2 separate regions of the Homo sapiens genome follow, and region 2 is linked to region 1. The links are contacts of gene promoters, found by promoter capture Hi-C in blood cells and fetal thymus (Javierre and others, 2016). All regions are on one chromosome and are shown on one strand. Each heading gives the region's core, a stretch centred on a gene start or on the middle of the fragment in contact. The rest is flanking DNA. Distances are from core to core; before and after follow the strand shown.

Region 1 (7,166 bases), core at 1,328-3,827:
CCAAAAGCGCAGCTGAAACTCTGTTTCCTTTAACCATTCAGACATTTTTAAATGCATATTCTAAGAATTATTAATAAATGCAAATGAATGATTTGCCACAGATTCATGGGCTAAAATACTAACCTGCACCTCCCCAACCAGATGTGAGCCCCACTATAAGACTGCACAGAAAACCACAAAGGCAGGGGCATGACACATATACCTCATACCATTAGGTGATGCAACTAGTTTTCTTTCCTTTTTGGAATATAATTTTTTATGATGAGTAAACATGGCTGAGTGGAAGAAAGGAAGCAACAAAGTCCTAGAGCTCCAGTGTTAGGAAGACTTTACAAAGCACCCAGTAATTTCCACAGTGACTTGAGATATAAAAAATGGTGAGGAGCCAGCTTCACTCCCACCTCAAGCTAAGCATCTACTGTCTACTCCATTCTAACCAATGCCCAGTGTTTTGGAGAATGACCATATGAACCTATGGGAATGCATCAGGTTTCCAAAGGGTTAAAACATTCATTAGCATTCTCAATGCTCCACCACTGTAGTTGCTATTTTAATTAGTACATTCAATCTGGAGTATCTGGAGGAAGACTTTAAACCTAAACCTCAATAGACTGTCTACTTACTCTTGTGAATCTGCCGCCTCTCTCAGAGCAAATGCTGCCCTGAGTGAAGGAAGAATGAGGCTCCCTGAAACTAGGTGCACAGGCACCAAAATGCTTACACATTGAGCTGGAATCATGCTAGGCCCAGAACACATTTCCTTGAACATTAAATTCAGGATGGTGCAAAACAACATTCACAACCAGACTTACACCTAAGAAAACAATTTGCTTAGAAGACCTTAGGATATAGGATCTACATCTCTCCGCATCCTGTGTTTATGCTCCTGTATGTTCCAGGTTGGCCCAACAAGCCAGAAGGAAGAGCCTAGCCTGTCATCTTGGATACCACCCAGATGGAAAAGCACGTCACAGTCAAAATCACAATCAACATTCTTGCAACAATGTTTGATTAAAATAAAAAGTAAACTTGGAAACCCAAGAGGAAATACTTGCTTTCTGGTTTAAAACTGTGCAAACCTCAAAATATCAGCAGAAACCATGTATACAAGTCACTGAACACACCTTCAACATAAAATGAATCATCTTTCGAGCATTTTTAAGCCCCCAGAGAAATCACATTTGCATACCAAGTAAGTGGCCAAGAAAATGCACACATGTACTTAACCTACGTCTGCAAAGAAGACAGAGAAAGGGCTGCTATTACTGTGAACATCAAAAGGGCTTCAGTTACAGTAACTTCAGTTCACTTCATGCTCCTAACTCAGGCTCTCTGCCTCCAATGCTTAGCGTCCCGCACCCTTCTCCAGGTTTTGAACCTGATCTCAATCCAATCAAAAGAGAAACTAAGCAGATTTTTTTCTGGGCATTTACATTACCGGTAACAATAGAACATTATAAAGATCTTGTTAACAAAAGTAGCTTCTTGCCAGAGTCTTTTTATTAACACTTGCAACGCTATTTAACAAGCTGGCCATGCCTGTGTGACACCAAACCGCATGTGGATAAATTCAGTGTTTCATCTCCAGGCCCACCAATTCCTATCCTTTGTAACTAATAATGTTAACACGACAGATCAAGAAACTAGTTTTTCAGAAAGCAGTTTTCATTCATTCTCTATAGACATTTCCGCCGCAGTGAACATGCCCGCACTCAGGGTGTCTGTGCATGGCCCCAACTTTCCTCCAAGCCGGGGAGGATGCAACGTGGGCCAACCATCCCGCGCGCTCGGCCCTGGAGGCTGCGGGGAGCGACGCAGCGCGACATTCACCCCCAGGAAAGCGCTGCTTTCCGCAGAGGAGAGAGGCTGACTGTATCCTTAGCTCGGCTCCTCGCTTCCCCAGCGGCTCGCCCCAGACATTGCACCGCGGAGGGGAGGCCGGTCGACCTCTCCGGCGATGCCCGGCTTCTGCCTGCTGTGGGAGGGCAGCGGCGGGCACCGTGATCTCCGCACCGAGAAGAGCTCCCCTTGCCCTCTAGTCGAAGCTCCCGAGTGCTCGGAGCACGCTCACCCCTCGCGAACACACCCCTGCAGCCGAAGCAGCCCCTGAAGCCCGCAGCGCCTGCAACAGGTCCGGGGCAGTGGGGGAAACTTACAGCAGTGGCGACTGGCCGCAACGCACAACTGAGTTCTAGCGACGGTCACGGGCAAGGAGGCGACGAACCGGTCGTCTCAGCCCAGGGAAGCGGTGGCGAATGCCCCGGAGAAAGGAGGGCCAGCCGGGGAGAGGACTGCGCCCCGAACGATGGCTCGCGGACCGGCTACCGATGGCGTTCGCCTCCGTCTGTCGTCCCCACGCCGCGGACCCGGTGTCCAGGACCCGCAGAGCGTCTCCGGAGCGCGTCACGGTAGGGCAGAGCAAGCCTGCCACTGCAGGCGCCGCGGAAGGAGGCGGGCTGTGCGCTCGGGGGAGGGAGCTAGAAAGCGCCTTGTGTGCCGGCGGCCGCCAGGCGTCTGGACCGGGTCTCCGCAGCGCCACCGCCGCACCGCCTCCTCTCCGGCTGCCAGAGCAGTCTGCGCCCCGCCGCCGTGCGCCCCGCTATAAGTGGCGCGGCGGGGAGGGGAGGGGGCGCGTATGCAAAGAGACCGACACCGGGGGAGGGAGGAAGCGCATTAGCGCGGCCTGTGGTGTAGGAGGAGGAAGAGGAGGAGAAGGAGTGGGAGGAGGAGAGGAGCTAGAGAAGAGCGTGTCGGGGGAGTTAATCGGGAGAGGAAGCGGGAGAGGGGGGCTGCGGGGAGTGCAGAGAGACAAAGCGGACGCACTGTCTCAGCCGCTGGCAGCTGCAACCCCGGGAACCGAGAATAAAATAAGTTTTCCCGGGTTCGAGTGTCTGCGCCTCTTTGGGCCAGCCTGGTTAATGGACAGCCCCGGATCTGAGGGACCCACCTTAGGGGAGCGCAGCCCGGGGCTGTGCGCTTGGTGATGCCAGAGCCCGCGAGATGCTCTAAAAAGGGCTGCAAGGGGCGAGCTGGGTATCCGCAGGACAGGCCCTGGGCACGCATAGACAGCGCCTTGGGTAGGACACCCAGAGTGGGGAGAGATAGTGGCAATGGACGGGCAAAAGTCTGGACAGTTTAGGGACACTCGGGTTGAGCAAGCCAGGACGTTTAAGTTTCTTGCTGGCAGAGAGCCAAAGAGACTCCAGCCCCAGGCATTTCCTATGTGTCCTCCCTCCCCACTCCCCAGTGGGTGCGGCACCCCCGGCTGGACTCTGCCCTAAGCCAGGCGACTGCAGGGGCAGCCGGGGCGCAGTCCTGCGGGGCGCGCACCACGTGCTTTTCAGCCAATCGCCGCGGCCGCTTGATTCAAAGTGAACTCCTCAAAGCAGCAGCCACGCCGCCTCCTCTCCTAGCGATTAAGCCTCCATCACCTTCTCCTGTTTTTTATCGCTCGGTGGTGTTAGTTTGGAGTTCAGTAAAGAAATGGCCCAGCACACACACACGTTTAATAGTCCCGCGTGTCAGGAGAAGGGAAGGCGATTCGAAAAATAATCTCGCGTGGTGATCACTTTTACGAATCCCATTTATCTTTGCAACTAGAGGCTTGTCTTTCCACTGGGAGTTAAAATATCTGTCTTTTATTCGGTATTTGGAGCTAAGTCTATAAATGAACGGGATAGATGACCGGTCCAGCCCCCTTGTTTTACAGGTGGGGAACCGAGGCCCAGGGAGATGTGAATTGCCTGGCTCGTAGTCACTTAGCAACAATGTCCCAGCTCTGCAGCTCGAGAGTGAGGGCCCCACGACAGAGTTTATTCCGTCCCCGGGTCCCCGCGTCCCCAAGCGCCCGCGCTTCGCCTCCCAGCTTGCTTTAAAACACTAGGCGCAGGAGCGATTTAAACTGGCTAAGGAGGCCCCACATGGCGCTTCCAGAGTCCAGACTGCTGAAACCAAGACTGTCAGTTCTTCATTCTAATTTCATTTTCCTTTATCCTTGTTCCTTCCTGGTATTTGCGCCGAGAAATTTCGCTCCTTGCAAACAAAGAAAGACAGTGCCCTCTGAAGTCCTTTGTTAGCATTAACTCGGCAGCCTCACCACGAACCTTTCAATATATATATTTTTTAATGCAGAGTCTCGGCTTGAGGCTGATTCACAGAGACAGCCCGGATCAATTCATGTCAAGAACCACGTATGGAGAGCCAGGGGGGCTGCGAGGTTAGGAGAGGGCTGGCAAGCAGCACCCAGGTTCTGAAGCAAAGACCAGACAGATGGAAACTCTGTAGACTCCAGAGATAGGTGCTGAAAAGATGGGAGGCGGAAATGTGTAACTATTGCACATATGTCTTTTTAAAACATGTTTCTGTAGCCTGTGGCAAGGTGTGGGGGAGCTCATCAAGGCAGCCACCAACGCACCTTTTAGACACCTCCTAGACCCACTCTGTCTGCTTCCTTTGTGAGTCAAATCTACCTAAAACGGCACCTAGATGACCTTGCCTAGAAATGGACTATGTACATAGCTCAGCTGGTTGGTTGGGGATTTTGCCACAGGAAGCGACAGAACTAGGGACAGGTATGTATCTTTACCACCTAGAAATTGCGGGATGTCCTTAACCAAGGGAACAGCAAAGTTCAGATCCCTTTGCAAAGAACTTTGCTAAGCAGGCAGGGCTGAGAAAGGAAAGAAATCCGCTGGCCATTGTGTCACCATCCGCTGGTGCCACTTTCCTGTATCTTTTCTACCTAATGTTGCCACTTTCTATGCTTCAATAGAAGAAAGGGAAAAAAAGCTGTAGACTGGAAAATCTTGAAATGCATTCAGTGACCGTATACATTCGCTTCATCTGCCTCGGGGAGATAAGCAATACAAGAGAAAAGAAATTAGCTTATGTAAGTCCTAAAAACTGGAAAACATTTTCCTGCTGAAAGTCACAAGAACTAAACTTGCAAGTTTGGAAATCATGGGTGCTACTGATGACCTCCTACAAACTGTACTCTGGTTTGCTTGAGCCAATCTATGACTAGTTTTCGGGCAGTTGGGCAGTTTTTAATGCTTATCTCAGCTGAAAATGATTTGCAAGTTAGCAAATTTATGATCATAGCAATTCAAACGGTGTAATCCCACAGCATCTCTCAGCCAATCCTAAAGGTAACTCTTATCACCCCACTCACACAAAGAAAAGCTGAGCAAGTCTTCATTTTGTACAGGAAGAAACTTCTAAACAGGGCTGTCATCAAAACTGGACGACCATAGACATAGCAGATATCTGAGTCACAAACAAGTCAGGAAATGCTGCTTACACTGTATCCGCATTACACAATAGCCAACACTTCACACAAGACATTAGGCCAGTCCTGTAGGCCCTTGGGAGCAGGTCTTTGCCTCTGTCTTGTGACATCAAACCAAAGTCTCATTTTTTAATGCTATTAAGAAGCTGTGCCCAAGGCTTTGGGCTTGTTATCTCCCCTAACAATGTTATTTTGTTAGGCCGCAAAATAAGCAGCATGCGGTTAAATGTATTAGCTGCCTTCAAACCTAATTTATCTTCATTCCTTCCTAATTTACACTTGGGCTGAATTAATGAGAATGATTTAATTAACACGGTGCGATCATGGTACCAGGGACAGGACAGCTCAGGGAATTAGACCAAACAGTAGGCTAAGCAGCTGCCATCCTGCCTCCGGTGGTCTCCTGAAGCCCCACCCAAATTCAGACATGTTCCCTGCTGGTATTCCAAAAGCGCCCTCTTTGTTTTATGAGGACACTTTCTGAATCTGTGCAAGGAAGATAGCACAGCTTTCCTTCCCCGAGTTATTTGCTAGATGGACTTCAAGGCTGTGTCCTGGAGACAGAGTGTGGCAGAGGGGCCAACTGCCCACCAAAGATTTGTGCTCCCCTTCCATAGTGTCAAGTTCGTGTTGGGAAGTGGACGCCCAGTCAGGGACCACACCTCCCAGTAGCACATATGTTGCGATCAACATCCCTGAAGGGGAAGGGAGGGAAGCAGGGTGGACAGATGGAGATGCTGAGCTGGGATGTGGTCTCAGCCAAGCCTTGGCTGACGCCATGGGGACCTCTGGAGCTGAAATGGCCTCACAGGTTGTCTGCATTTAGGGCAAGAAGGCTTTTATAGGGCTACATCACCCAGTTGCTGAATGCAGCTTGCCCAGGGAAGGGACCATGGCTTTGGGCAAGGTGGTGCTCTTTTGCTGAGGGAGCTGCCAGCACACACAGAGGCTGGAGGAATAAGCCCTCCATTCCCAAAGGAGGATCTGAAGACCTCAGAACAGTGAGAATACAGATATACAAACCTAGGAAAATGAGACCTCAGCTTCCATCAGCAATCCTCTTATTTTTAAAAAGAGAGAGAGAGGAAAGTCTGGCTGTTTATTAAAGAGATGAGAATAAGGAAAAACACAGGTAATCGATACAAGAAATTATCAGCATTTTATAAAACAGTTATCACTTTTTTGTCTGGGGAAGACAAAGGGTCTAAATCGATAGTTTTCTAAATTTTGGTTTGCCATCTTCTATCTTTGTGCGTTAAAAAAAGTTATGTTTATGTTAAATATCTGTCATGATAAACCTTGAGAGTATTCTTCCTCTTTTTTTTCCTTTTTTTTTTTTTTTTTTTTTTTTTGAGACAGAGTCTCACTCTGTTGCCCAGGCTGGAGTGCAGTGGCGCAATCTCGGCTCACTACAACCTCCCCCTCTCAGATTCAAGCAATTCTCCTGCCTCAGCCTCTCAAGTAAATGGGACTACAGGCGCCTGCCACCACATCCGGCTAATTTTTGTATTTTTAGTACAGACAGGGGTCCATCATGTTGACCAAGCTGGTCTCGAACTCCTGACCTCAGGTGATCCACCCATGTCAGCCTCCCAAAGTGCTGGGATTACAGGTGTGAGCCACCACTCCTGGCCTCCTTAGGAGTATTCTTAAGATTGCATCCGAATTGGTTTGATCATATTTTAACATTTCAGTTGCTTCCTACATCCATTATGTGTGTCACCTTATGTGTATTTTGTGAATTAAGCTGGATTGTATAGTATGATTGTTTTTAGAGGTGAGCCCGTGCTAAGTTGCCAGGCTGGAGTGCAGTGGCTATTCACAGGCCGACATGGTTCACTGCAGCGTATAACTCCTGGGCTCAAGCCATCCTCCTGCC
Region 2 (6,958 bases), core at 117-2,616, 590 kb before region 1:
TAATAAGCCTTTACTCTGTTATTTCCTATGGAACCATGCATTAGATTAACAAAACAATGGTAGCTGGCTAATGACAGAGCTGTGGTCAGAACCCCAGGGATAGCCTATGTCACTATTAGCGCCTCAAGGCAAAATGTCACTTGGGCCACCTCTTCCAATCCAATCAAGAAGACTTTGACCTATAATTGCATTCAGAGAGTTCAAGAGCTCAAGAGGTTACAGATGGGGTGAGCGGGCCCATGCTTTGCATCATCAGATCAGCTTGAGGAAAGAATGTATGAGAGCATAAACAGGGACCAATATGGGCAAGGGGAAGGCATATTTGTTTCCTGTTTGCAAATGATATTTGGAAACAAAACAAATATTCCTGTTTATCATTGACTACTTAGGAGAGGTATATTTGTTTATTGTTTATATACATTTTTATTTTGGAATAATTTTAGATTTACAAAAAAGTTCCAAAGATAATGCAGAGAAACACTGTACCTTTCATCCAATTTCCCTTTACATAGGAAGTGTCATACATATGTCAAAACCAAGAAATCAACATTGGTAACATTACTACTAACTAAATTCCAGCTTTTATATTGCATTTGTTTTTTTCTATCTGCAGCTTTAAATCTCAGTAGGAAGAATTGTATAAAACAATAAGATATCAAAGCAATTTTAAACAGATAACCTCTATCTTGTAGAGAGTAGGGATAGAGATGAAAGATAGCATGAGGCAAAGTGGTGATATTAATCCAGCAACTTACTTTTCCTACCATGGATTTTTAGATGAACTTTGATCATTCTGATGCAGATCAAAGGGTACCTCCTCTGCGAAGACTTCCCTGGTCTGACACCAAAAATGCTGATATTGGAGTTGTCAGCCGAAAGAAAGGGACCAGAATATTCTCAAGGAGCAATTTTTAAAGCTTCCCCTCCCCTACTCCTTGCTACCTTCCAACTCATGTTACTGAATGTGCTTCCAGAAAGCATCTCTGAAGGTTTTATGCATGAAGAGTTTGTGCTGGGTCTTTTGCCTTTTGAATGATAGGAATTGCTGAAGCTATATATCCCTGAAAATGTCCAGTTTAGGAATCATCAGGGATAACACATCTTAGCACATTTAGGTAAAGCTATTCATATTCAAAAATGAGTTTGGGGGGAATTGGGCTTACTCAGTTTACCTCTGACCAAATTTAACAAATAGGAGGAGCTGCCACAAATTTGGCACTGAGCTGGCTATGGCTTCACTGAGGATCACTCCTTTCTGAACACTGACACTCTAAATGATACTGTAGATGTTTCTCTCTACTAAACTCTAAGTTCCTGATGATAGGGACCGTGAGAAATGTGTCCTAGTCTTTCTTAACCTTGGACCCTCATTGCCTGAAACAATCCCTAGAATTTAACAGATGCTCAATAAATGTTCTTGGGCCAAAAATGGACAAATATCTATTGCATGGATAGATGGTTGAATGAATGCATAACTGATGAGTAATTCCTCATCTCTGCCTTTAGGGGCTTACTCTCTGGAAAGAGATAGCGAGAAACACCCAGGTGATTATATTGCACGGTGGAATGAGGTAGTAAGTGCTGAGAGAGGTGAACATGCTAAAGAAAATGCTGTTTAGGTTCCAAGAAGGTGAGAACTACAGCCCCTTGGAAAATAAGCAGAGGTAAGCTGTACTTGAGATTGTCCAGGAAGGATGCATAGGATGTTGTAATCAGGGGTAGGATGGGAAATAAATAAGAACATTCCTGTCTGAGGGAACAGAGCACACTAACCCAGCAAGGTGGGAAATAAGGAACGCTTAGCATTTAGTTTAGAAAGCTTATGTGGCATGTGGAAGTAAGGGAAAATAAATGAAATTCATACGCTGAATTTCCACATTATGCATATCCTTGAATGCCTCTGTTTGCCAATTTGGAAGCGATGACAGACACAGATAAATCATGAAGAGAAGCTGTCTTGGGATGGAGGTAAGTGTGTTCAAGTACATCTTCCAAGAACATATTAGGTCTGAGAAAAATATTAGAACTGCAGGAAAGAAAAAAGCATTGTGATAATATGATGATACCGTTTAGTCATTAAGTTCTATGGTGACAAACCAGAGCTTTCCTATGTTTGTAATGTAGGAGGCTATGCTGTGATTAAATCATTATCTGTCCAGCCAATAAAATACAAAGAAAGCCAGTAAAGCAATTTTGTTAAAGAAGCAATTGAAGGGCCGGGCACGGTGGCTCATACCTGTAATCCCAGCATTTTGGGACGCTGAGGTGGGCGGACTGCCTGAGCTCAGGAGTTCAAGACCAGCCTGGACAACACGGTGAAACCCTGTCTCTCCTAAAATACAAAAAAAATTTGCCAGACATGACGGCATGCGCCTGTAATCCCAGCTACTTGAAGGCTGAGGCAGGAGAATCATTTAACCCTGGGAAGTGGAGGTTGCAGTGAGCCAGAATCTCCCCACTGCACTTCAGACTGGGCGACAGAGCAAGACTCGATCTCTAAAAAAAACAAACAACAACAAGCAATTGAAATAGCAGTTTTTGAACCTAATACTTTTTCTCTCCATGTTCCTTTAACAGTTGCATGATCAAGCTGACTTGAGGGTTCTGAACAGAAGCTGACCAGTCTACTGCACATTGTAAAGAAGTTAAAAAGCTGGATTGAATTGCAAAATGTACTACTCAAGGAGTCCAAAGAATAAAATATGAGCAGCTTGTGGGGGTAAAGCATTCGTAGGTATAGTATAGAAAAGGTCCATGAGCATCATGTCAGTGTCTTTTAACTTTCCATTGCAGTGGAATAATCCTTTATGCGTTTATGAAAATCTTTGGAAAAGAAGCCACGTCACTGGGTGGTTCCTACTTATTTTCCTCTCCAGGGGCCTTTGCTGCTCTTGCTGGGTGCCTCAGTTGCTAGCTTTGTGAGTAGTAATGCCCCACTGTTCCCAGCTCCTTGCTTGCTGGGTGTGAGGACAGAGGCTATCATAGCAATAATTGCTGGATGTTCTGTGTTTGCACATCTGTGGTGGCCTTCTGAATTGAGTTTCGTGCCAGAGCCAGGCAGCGCCTCCCTACCCCACCCTCCCACTGCCCCTTTATTTTCTGTGTCACACCATTAAAAGAAATGAGATTATGGCACAAATCATCATTCATATGACTCTAGCATAGAAGGTTAGCGAGATATTGCAGAGATAATTCCATAGCCACCATGGCCCCTGACAATAATTACAATGTGGCCACAGGGGATTACCTTCTAATAGGCTTTTGTTCACTCAATTCAGAGTCTGTTGTGTGCTAGAGTTTGGATAATTAAAGTTGTGTCTCAGAAGCCACATGTGGTAGCTCATAATTATGTAGTCGAGTCTAACAGAAAACTGAGGTGACTGACACCCGGCCAGAGTGAAGAACAGGGGTCCTTGGTGACAACGAAGAAAGAAACCAGTCCCCTCATTTGGGGACAGGGGATTGGTGTTCACTCCATAGCATCAACTGCTTTATTTATTTTAAACAAAAATGACTAATTATAGCCCTTTCTGGTCCAATCCCTCACTCTCCACGGGGACTTTTCCTAACCCTTTCCTATTGCTCCAACAAAAGAATGGTAGCTGGTCTGAGCAATGAAGAAAATATACATGGCTTATTTAAACAGCATAATGGTTTAATTATTTAATCATTTGCATGTTGAGTGATTTGCATAAAAGCAGGAAAAGGCCCATGTTGGAATTTGGCCTGTATCTCCCCCTGTTCCTCACTGGAGAAAAGATTCTGAAACTTGGCCTCGTTGAAGCCCTTGAATTTTAGAAAAAAAATGTGAACTTTGAAAAACTTAGATTTGTTATTTCAAGGATGCAATATTTGAAAAGAAAACAAATCCAAAGACTATATCCCATTGGGCCATATTTCTCAAGTCAGTCGATGGCTGTCAAAGAAGCAAAGTAGTTAATTTTCCCTGTAAAGTATGCCCTTGAAAAGCCATTCTCCTAAGTATAGGCAGAATGCTTTGCTAAGTGGGTGCCTTTTCAGCATTCTAAGACTGGGTCCCACATTTTCTAACGATTCATTGTGAAAGAGATGGCTATTTTACCATTCTGCTTAAAATCTGAAACTTTAGTTCAGCACATCTCTTATCTTAAATCCTTGGAATGTTTAGAAGATTCTTGCAACGCACTTCTAAAAGGCTCTGAATTTCTGAGCCTTAAAAGTAAAATTCTGCTTTGTTCCAACATAAGACATTTTTCCTCCAAGTTTTGCCAGGTAGAGAACAAACCCCTTCATTTTTTTCAACACTGTTGTCTCTTTTAAAGCACAGCAAATTTATTCTTCACCCAATGTGGAAACAACAATTGATATTCAAAACGCTACCCTTTCCTAAGGCTTTGCCTTCATGAAAATGAAACATATTTCGTACTGAGCACCATATGGTGTTTGTGAAGAGTGGACACGCAGATGCCTCCTAATTAAAGCATTAAAGTTTGTCATGAGAAATGGCAGCACAGATGATTTTGGCTGGGCGTGTGGGAGGGGGTAGGCAGGAAGGGGTCCCAGAGAGTGGATGAAGTGGTAGGCTGACTCCCAGTTTTTTCAAACACACGCTCTGATTGGTCCTCAGGGAGCAGATAATGGCAAGAGGCAGTTAATTTGAAGATAATTGAGAGATCTCTTTCCTGTCTTCACACAATAAAAAAAGGTGTCGGGCCTCAGCTGGCAGTTGCACTCTGGCAGGAAGAAAAGGGCTCGAATTGGTCTGTGAAAGCTGCCACCTCCTTTTCACTTCTCACACAAAGCTGGGAAACCCCTTTCCTATCCTACACCCCTCCTTCCCCCATGCCCCCAGCCGTGCACCCATGTTTATTGTTTCAACACATCAGACCATAAATAAGTTTCCAGAGGGAGAGAATATTGGAGGACAAGGGAAGTTCTATTCTTCTGGAAAACATGAGCTGTGCCTCTATAAACACTACCTCCCAGACAGGCTGAAGAGAAGCATCCCCTCAGATGGGGGTTTACTGTGAGATGATGAACTGGTTTTTTGAGCCACTTTTTCCCCTTTCTCAGCATCTCTGGTACTATGTGCCAAGCTGTTCTCGAACCCATGCAGTCTAGAAACCCGGAGGGACTTTCTCAGGTTAAGGGGAACATTCATCTGCCCACCTCTGTGTAGATGGTAGATAGAAGCTCTTGAGGTGTCATGTGGTAGGAACGGTCTTAAGCTGGGTTCACACTTGCCTCAGCAAGTCACACTGCAAAAGGGAAGAGGTAATCACATGTGAGGGGCTTTTGGTTTGTTTGTTTTTTAAGGAAACTCTCCCTCTGGCCTGCTAAACTTCCCAGCTCCTTTTTTATATTATAGCGCAGCTTGCTTATAAATTCTAGGAAAATCTTAAGTCGGCACTTAAAATAATCTTTTTTAAAAAACACACCCACGTGAAGAATTACTGGAAATTAGGATTACATAAGTGTGAAGAATGTTGCTTTTTCCCTCAGAACTGGGAAACTTAATGTTGACAGGCTAAGGGAAACTTTAAAAAGTGAAAAGAGCTACAGTCATCAGTTTATTCCTTGTCAGTAAAGCCCCGAGAAAATGGATTTGATGGAGTGGGCAGAAAGGCAACATAAAGAGTGGCAGGGGCAATGCTGAATGAGAAAGCCATTCCAGGAAGCTAAATCAGCTAAGGAACAGGATGGTTTGGGGGTAATTAAAGGTAGCTACACAACTGGGTTTGCTAATCTGATTGAAAAAATTTTTCTGAAGTATATTTTTCAGTCATTCTGGTAAGTTAGGTCAAGTAAGTTTTTCTTCTCTCTGAGCAGTAGAGACTGTGATGGCCTCTCCACCAGAGGGCTGCCTTCCAGTAAGTTCCTGGGGAGTACCTTGGAGGTATGAGTCTTGGCCTGTGTTGGCATTTCTGTGTTGTAATTACACAGAATGGGCAGAATGGGAAACCTAATAAAGTGCTGGGACCATTGAAATAAAGAATAAGACTAAAGTTAGAAACTTCTGTTTATCTAATGTTATCATAAAGAAAGCAGAGAGATAAACTCCAAACTTAGAAAAGAGATTTCCAATACATAAACCAACAAGAGTTTAGTATCGAGAATAAAGGATAAAGGTAGGAAATCAATGAGAGAAATATAGCCCAGGAAAAAATCTGGGTAAATGACAGAAATAGACACCTTAGGGTAAAGGAAATGCAAGTGATTAACATATACTTGAAAAATGTATATATAACTGATTAGTAGGCAGGAAATGCAAATTAAAACCCAAATGAGATCCTATTTTGCATCTAAGAGATTGGGAAACAATTGGGAAGTTTGATAATATCTAGTGCTGATGAGGATACAGACAAAGGAATTTCTTATCTGCTCTGGAGCATGTGTATGCATTGGTTCTACAACACCGGGAAATGATTTGGCATTATTAACTAACCCATAACTCTATTGCCGGACATATCCCTTAGGTAACTCCTGGCACATCTACAAGAATGGTCATTTAACACACTAAGACCAAAAATACTATCTGAACAGTTCAAAGGCCATTAATAAGCAAGTCTGTGAATACATTGTGACACTGGAGTACTATACAGCATGAAAAATGAATGAGTTAGGACTATGCACATTATGTAGAATCTCACAAATAATACTGTGGGAAAAATTTTTTTACAAGATTTCATACAGTATGATGCCATTTTCCTAAGCCTAAATCAAACAACTTAAATAATATCTTACTTAAAGATACAGTAGATTCTCATTATTTGTAGTGGTTATATTCTATGAAGTTGCTGCAAACACTGAATTAGCAAAATACTGAAATCTACAACTATATCTCTGTCTATATTTATAAACGCACAGAGTTGGCCCTCTGTATCCATGAGTTCCACATCCCCAGGTTGTACAATCTACAGATTCAACCAACTGAGGACTGAAAATATTTTTAAAAAGTAAAAAATACAACATAAAAGTA

The links. The method cuts DNA at HindIII sites, captures the fragments that hold promoters and counts their contacts. A CHiCAGO score of 5 or more calls a contact.
Region 2: a fragment that was not itself captured here is called in contact with the fragment with the promoter of ENC1 in region 1 in 3 of 17 cell types (M0 macrophages, monocytes and M2 macrophages); the score reaches 7.3 in M0 macrophages.

What each region holds. Positions count from the first base shown.
Region 1 is chr5:74,638,151-74,645,316 of GRCh38, forward strand. It overlaps ENC1 (ectodermal-neural cortex 1), which reads right to left and starts at 2,578. Exons shown (of 3, transcript NM_003633.4): 1 at 2,157-2,578. It also overlaps a transcript of HEXB not described here. RefSeq lists enhancers at 2,027-2,386, 2,848-3,563, 3,564-4,277 and silencers at 2,427-2,686, 5,194-5,488. The HindIII fragment of the contact is 20,564 bases long and covers 1-7,166 here.
Region 2 is chr5:74,051,117-74,058,074 of GRCh38, forward strand. The region is part of intron 2 of LINC02122 (long intergenic non-protein coding RNA 2122); the gene reads right to left. It overlaps LOC105379035 (a long non-coding RNA gene), which reads left to right. Exons shown (of 3, transcript XR_948476.3): 3 at 2,578-3,329. Among named protein-coding and RNA genes, the nearest start is that of LINC02122, 49 kb to the right of the region's middle. The HindIII fragment of the contact is 902 bases long and covers 916-1,817 here.